Regions from separate parts of the Homo sapiens genome. Here region 1 is linked to region 2. The links are contacts of gene promoters, found by promoter capture Hi-C in blood cells and fetal thymus (Javierre and others, 2016). All regions are on one chromosome and are shown on one strand. Each heading gives the region's core, a stretch centred on a gene start or on the middle of the fragment in contact. The rest is flanking DNA. Distances are from core to core; before and after follow the strand shown.

The links. The method cuts DNA at HindIII sites, captures the fragments that hold promoters and counts their contacts. A CHiCAGO score of 5 or more calls a contact.
Region 1: a fragment that was not itself captured here is called in contact with the fragment with the promoter of TAS2R5 in region 2 in 1 of 17 cell types (M2 macrophages); the score reaches 5.9 in M2 macrophages.

What each region holds. Positions count from the first base shown.
Region 1 is chr7:142,193,362-142,197,019 of GRCh38, forward strand. MGAM2 (maltase-glucoamylase 2 (putative)) reads left to right here. Exons shown (of 48, transcript NM_001293626.2): 38 at 2,793-2,926; 39 at 3,204-3,238; 40 at 3,339-3,455. Among named protein-coding and RNA genes, the nearest start is that of PRSS58, 63 kb to the right of the region's middle. RefSeq lists an enhancer at 2,730-3,658. The HindIII fragment of the contact is 5,144 bases long and covers 1-3,658 here.
Region 2 is chr7:141,788,351-141,791,983 of GRCh38, forward strand. It overlaps TAS2R5 (taste 2 receptor member 5), which reads left to right and starts at 1,867. Exons shown (of 1, transcript NM_018980.3): 1 at 1,867-3,017. The coding sequence starts at 2,012. The coding sequence ends at 2,911. It also overlaps the pseudogene TAS2R6P. The HindIII fragment of the contact is 7,447 bases long and covers 1-2,209 here.

The sequences.
Region 1 (3,658 bases), core at 719-3,218, 410 kb after region 2:
CTACACACCTGGGGAGAAGACCATGTCTTCTTTGCTCTTTTCTGTCCAAGCACTGAACCATTTTTATTTCTTTTTATGAAAATGCCTTTGTTTGTCAGCCCTGAGTGCCTGCATTGATGGGAGAGCTCAGCGTTTGTGGCATCAGTGGTCAGTTTTGTTCACTGACTCTTCCCTGCTGACCTTCATGCTACATCCTCTGCTGACCTTGAGGTTCACAATATTGAGGTTCATAATATGCCCTGCTGCATATGCTCTGTGTGCTTTTGCTAGTTTCTCAGGATCTTGACTGTGCTTTCCAACCTAGATTCCAGATATTTATGCATTTACCTCTCTGGCCACAGTTCCACAAACTCCTTTGCAGGTTTCCCTTCCCAGTCTTTCCAAGCCTATGCTCCTTCCACACCTGGGTTCAGTCATCTTTTTTTTTCTTCACACCATGTAGCTTTTCCCTTGGATAAGCACAAACACATACTACTGGCTTTAAATACACTCTGGATTCAGATGGCCCCCAAATCTTTGTTCCCAACCCAAACCTCTCTTGAGCCTCAAACCTAGAATTGCCCATAGCTGTCTCATTTATGATGTCCCATAGGCACTTCAAATCTAATACTTAAAATGTTGAACTATTTATCTCTCCCTTAAACCTGTCCTCCTGCAGTCTTTTCTTTCTTCTTCTTTTTTTTTTTTTTAAGATGGAGTCTCGCTCTGTCACCCAGGCTGGAGTGCAGTGGCACGATTTCGACTCACTGCAACCTCCATCTCCTGGGTTCAAGCAATTCTCCTGCCTCAGCCTCCCTAGTAGCTGCAATTAGAGTTGCATGCCACCATGCCCAGCTAATTTTGCATTTTTATTAAAGACAGGGTTTTGCCATGTTGGCCAGGCTAGTCTCGAACTGCTGACTTCAGGTGATCCATCTGCCTGGGCCTCCCAAAGAGTTGGGAATACAGGCGTGAGCCACTGCGCCCGGCCCCTCCAGCATTCTTTATTTTAGTGAAAGGAACCAAGTTTAACTAGTCATTAGGTCATCCTAGATTCTCTTTCTTTTCCTGCTTTCAGTTGGTGACTCAGTTCTTTGCATCAGTCACTACTCTATCTTCCTGCCTTATTCCAGGCCTTCATTATCTCTCATCTAGACTGTTATAAAAATCTAAGCTATCCTCACCCCCATTTCTTTATCACACATACATACATATGCATTCTTCCAATTTGTGTATGGTTAAATCTATACCTTTTACTTCATTATGTTTTGTCCATTGTTTTTATTTGAAATTCCTTTCTCTTGTAGAAATCAGGTGGTTTATATATTCTTTCAGTTTTAATAGAACATGTGTGTATGTGTGTGTGTGTGTGTGTGTGTGTGTGTGTGTATTTCCATTCATTTTTGGATTTGTTTTGGTGTGAAAAATTGGAAATAACCCAAATGGATTAGTTTACACAACAGTAGTCAGCTACTTTTCCTGACATCATTTATTGACTAATTCATCTGTGTCTATTGATCTGTGATGCTTTTTTAAGCAAATACTTGGATTGTATACATACTAGGATCTATTAGTAGACTTTCTCTTTTGTTCAGTTGATTTTTCCCTCACACAGTTGTTGTTATTTTCTAAGGGTGCGTGCAGATGATCCATCTTCCACTGAAAGATAAACATCTTTTATGTATATTTGCCTCTGTGTGCAAAACATGTCTCGCTTTTTGAGGTACAGAAAAGCAGAGTGAATATTTCCAAAATGCTGTAGCTTTTATTTGGATCCCAGATCTGCCTCCTTATTCTTTTTTTCCCTCTTCCCCTGTCTGCCATGTGACTACAGACACACGTGCACCACCCTGCCCAGCTAATTTTATTTTTTTGTAGAGACAGGGTCTCAATGTGTTGCCTAGGCTGGTCTTGAACTTCTGGCCTCAAGCAGTCCTTCTGCCTTGGCCTCCCAAGGTGCTGGGATTACATGTGTGAGTTTCTGTGCCTGGCCTCCTTTTTACTCTTTTTTTTTTTTTTTTTTTTTTTTTTTTGAGACAGAGTCTTGCTCTATCACCTAGGCTGAAGGGCAGTGGCACGATCTCAGCTCACTGCAACCTCCATCTCCTCAGGTTCAAGTGATTCTCCTACCTCAGCCTCCTGGGTAGCTGGGATTAGAGGTATGCACACCACACCCGGCTAATTTTTTTTTTTTTTAGTAGAGACAGGGTTTCACCATGTTGGCCAGGCTGGTCTTGAATTCCTGACCTCAAGTGATCCACCCACCTTGACCTCCCAAAATGCTGGGATTACAGGTGTGAGCCACCACACCCAGACCTCTTTACCCTTTAAATGACCTTTGGTAAGCATTTTAAAGATCATCTTATTTTGTCCAGCTCACTATTTTCAGGCGAATGCCTTTCTAACTTCTCTGAATCTTAGCTTCCTAACAGTAAAAGGAGTGCAAGGAAACCTTTTCATGATGTTATGAGACACCACATAGGAAAGTGACCGGTATAATACTGGAATAGAGGAATTGTTCCATAAATAGCTATATTACGCCTCACTCCCACCCCTTTCTCTTACTCCAGGGTGATAGTTAATTAACCAGATTTTTCAAAAATGAAACCCACATTCTACGTGCAGATATACCTCTAGTCTTGCTGTGAAGTTTGTTGGGATCTTTAGCATGGCTTTGAGACAGCAGATTCTTTCAGGGAAGAAGTTATCTGACTCGGACCGAAGTACCCTCACCCTCTCATGCTCCAAGCTGCAGTTATTCTCTGTAAAGGAGTTTGTTTCTTCAACTCACCTCTTTATTCCCCTCCCACCAGAGCTGTGCAGGAGGTGACAGGACAGCGAGGGGTCATCATCACCCGCTCCACATTTCCCTCTTCTGGACGCTGGGGAGGACACCGGTTGGGAAACAACACAGCTGCATGGGACCAGCTGGGGAAATCTATCATTGGTGTGTGGGCTCATTCCCAGGGGCCTGTGCTGGCAGGGAGGGCACTGGAGTTTGTGCTGTTCAACAGCACTGGTTATGTCTCTATCATCATCTAGGTGGGTGGTAAAATTAACAAGAACTGAGTTCTCTCTGGGCGTGGATTTTAATTTACACCCATCTTTTAATATTTTCATCATGGTCCAGGGCTTTCTAATGGGGTAAGGAAAAATCAGGCCAAGCCTTCACTCTCCTCCCAAAGTGCTCCTTCCTCCAACACAGCTGTGTCTTCTCTTTGCAGGCATGATGGAGTTCAGTCTCTTTGGAATACCTTATGTAAGTCACATTCAGACCATTACTAATTGCCCAGTCAGATTTTAGTGAGTCAGCGCCTCATGAAATTCCCACCTCATGCTCTCATTATGCATCTTCTCAGACAGGAGCAGATATCTGTGGGTTCTTTGGAGATGCTGAATATGAGATGTGTGTTCGCTGGATGCAACTGGGGGCATTTTATCCATTTTCCAGAAACCACAACAACATCGGGACAAGGGTGAGGCAGTAGTTCGTGCTCCAGGTGTTGTGTACCCTCAAATCATAACTTCTTTTTAACCCCCAGGACTATTATACTCATTTCCTGAGAAAAATCAAAAAACATCACCAGAATCTTAATTTCTTGGAAAATCCACAGAGTTCAGAACTCTGGAATTATCAGTAATTTTTAGAAATATACCTTTTCTCATCTCCTGGAGAATT
Region 2 (3,633 bases), core at 617-3,116:
CACTTGTCTTTTTGTAAAGACATCACAGGAAGATGGAGGACCACACAGCTGTCAGGAGGAGGCTCAAACCAAGGTGCTCATCGCTCTGAACTTCCCCCTTTACATGGTTTCTGCCTTGGCCAGACACTTTTCCATGACCTTCTAATCTCCCTCTGATCTCACCATTCTTGCCATCTCTGCAACACTCATGGCTGTTTATACTTCATTTCCGTCTATTGTAATGGTTATGAGGAATCAGACTTGTCAGAGAATTCTGTAGGAGATGATATGTACATGGAAATCCTAGAGGCCATGACTTGGAAGAAGGATCTAATCAGGCCCTTAACTGTATCACTGACAACAGTAAAAATAACTGTAGATTTTAGAAAAATGAAATTTTTATTCTCAATTCTCCTCATTTCTTCTTTGATTTTGAAACAAAATGAAAGGGTAACATGAAAAACAGGCTAGAAACTGGAGCTTATTGCTCTCTAAGCAATGCAAATCACATCATTTTAATAAACTACAGAAGTCAAAACCGAGTTTTCATATTTTGCATGGGAAGTATCACATTTTTAAAAATTACTGCAGATAATCAAGTTTTCTTTGCCAATATGCTATGTTTTTGATAAAAGGAAGTAGAAAATAGCTATAGTTTGAAAATAATATATTTTAAAAAGAGGTGAGCCTGTATATTTTTTAGGCAAGCACTTTTCTTAGGGGAATTAGCTAAATTATTATCTCAATTTTCTATGTAGTTTAGCCTCTCAACACCGGTAGTAAAGTAGTCAAAAACCTACCTTTATATTTCTGGATACTTTGGTTTTTTTGATGCCAGACTAGCTTTCTGGAAACGTGTCAGTTGGCTACCAGGATCGGTGGCAAATTCCACTGCCAGGCTAGATTGGGGCAGGTGGGGAGAGAGAGGCACTATGTCTCTATCAGAAAGTCACTGAAGAAACACTGTTTTTGGACGAGTTCAAGCCTCATCTAGATTTTTAGTCCAGTAGAAGATCGCGACCACCTCTGCCCCTCCATAGCCTACAGCCAGAGTTTTAGAGTACCAGGCCTTGCAGCTTGGTGGAGATGATGTACAATGGATGCTACCTGGAGGCAGGGACTGTGTATTATAATGGCGCCGTCCCCTGTGCCTAGTACACCGTAGTTTGACACAAAATAAGCACTTTGTAAATTTAGTCCGAAGGAATGGAAATCTCATCCTACAATCCATTCAGTTATTAATAGAGCAACTGAGGCCCAGAGACGGGCAGTGGCCTGCCTGCCTACAGCTTCGTAGAGAGTTCTCAGCATGCTTACTTTTTTTTTTTGAGATGGAGTCTTGCTCTGTCGCCCAGGCTGGAGTGCAGTGGCGCGATCTTGGCCCACTGCAGCTTCCATCTCCTGGGTTCAAGTGGTTCTCCTGCCTCAGCCTCCCGAGTAGCTGGGACTACAGGCAGCCACCACCACGCCCAGATAATTTTTGTATTTTTAGTAGAGATGGGGCTTCACCATGTTGGCCAGGGTGGTCTCGAACTCCTGGCTTCAGGTGATCCACCCGCCTTGGCCTCTCAAAGTGTTGGGATTACAGGTGTGAGCCACCATGCCTGGCCCAGTGTTCTTTTCATGAAAATAAAATTTCTTTTTTTATATAGCATATGAGCTCATAACTGGCACTGTATAGCACCTGAGCATGTTTTGATTTGGTCTTTCTTGTTGAGGGGCCTTGTTACGTTATACCCTGGTGTCTAGACTTTGGCCCAAAACCTTTGAGATGGAGAGCCGGTGTCTGTGGTACTGTTTGCAATCTCTGGTTCTACACTCAGGGTTCATTCATGTAGATGCAAATACAGATGGTATCATAACTTCCAACCTCTCTGTTCCTCATCACAGCTGTTCAGTCTCGCTTGAAGACAGATTACGGAAGGACGAGGCCAAATCCAGATTTTGTGGTGTGAAAATTTACCCTGGTGTGTTATCACTACCAGGGGATCTGACCTCAGCCAGGAGCAGTGAGAGCCTCCTCTCCCCAGCCATGCTGAGCGCTGGCCTAGGACTGCTGATGCTGGTGGCAGTGGTTGAATTTCTCATCGGTTTAATTGGAAATGGAAGCCTGGTGGTCTGGAGTTTTAGAGAATGGATCAGAAAATTCAACTGGTCCTCATATAACCTCATTATCCTGGGCCTGGCTGGCTGCCGATTTCTCCTGCAGTGGCTGATCATTTTGGACTTAAGCTTGTTTCCACTTTTCCAGAGCAGCCGTTGGCTTCGCTATCTTAGTATCTTCTGGGTCCTGGTAAGCCAGGCCAGCTTATGGTTTGCCACCTTCCTCAGTGTCTTCTATTGCAAGAAGATCACGACCTTCGATCGCCCGGCCTACTTGTGGCTGAAGCAGAGGGCCTATAACCTGAGTCTCTGGTGCCTTCTGGGCTACTTTATAATCAATTTGTTACTTACAGTCCAAATTGGCTTAACATTCTATCATCCTCCCCAAGGAAACAGCAGCATTCGGTATCCCTTTGAAAGCTGGCAGTACCTGTATGCATTTCAGCTCAATTCAGGAAGTTATTTGCCTTTAGTGGTGTTTCTTGTTTCCTCTGGGATGCTGATTGTCTCTTTGTATACACACCACAAGAAGATGAAGGTCCATTCAGCTGGTAGGAGGGATGTCCGGGCCAAGGCTCACATCACTGCGCTGAAGTCCTTGGGCTGCTTCCTCTTACTTCACCTGGTTTATATCATGGCCAGCCCCTTCTCCATCACCTCCAAGACTTATCCTCCTGATCTCACCAGTGTCTTCATCTGGGAGACACTCATGGCAGCCTATCCTTCTCTTCATTCTCTCATATTGATCATGGGGATTCCTAGGGTGAAGCAGACTTGTCAGAAGATCCTGTGGAAGACAGTGTGTGCTCGGAGATGCTGGGGCCCATGATCTGGGAAGAAAAGTGTGGTCAGGACACTCTTGGGACGCTCTTTTGATAGCTCTCTATAAGGGAGCTGCTTTCCATGTCTTTTAAGATTTTCCTTCTTTTACACCAATGTAATGAATGAGCAACAGAAAATACGGATCAAAACCCAATACTATGTCTCTTTTGGCAATGCAAAGTATATTTTTTTAATGTACCACAGAAATCAAGGCTAGGGCTTCATGTTTGGTAAAAGAGGTATTATATTCTCTCTACATATAGCAAATAATTCATATATAAATCGTGTTTTTCCTATTATAAAAAGCAGAGATTAGGAACAATTCTGTCTACATATAGCAAAAATTCATATATAAATTGTGTTTTTCCTAGTATAGAAAACAGAGATTAGGAACAATTATAGTGATCATTAATTTTTATGAAATTTTACCTATACATTAATGTTAGTCATTTTAGATATGCTTTTTAAAAAGTATCAAATAATTTCCCCATTTCTCTGCTGTAATGTATCTAATTATCTAACTGAAAAACAAAACAAAACATCTTTATATTTCTGGAAGTTTCTTTGAGCCCTAGCCTTGGCTTTCAGAATAAAAATCAGGCTCACGCCTGTAATCCCAGCGCTTTGGGAGGCTGAGGCGGGCGGATCACGAGGTCAAGAGATCAAGACCAAATTAGCCGGGCGCGGTGGCGGGCGCCTGTAGTCCCAGCTACTCGGGAGGCTGAGGCA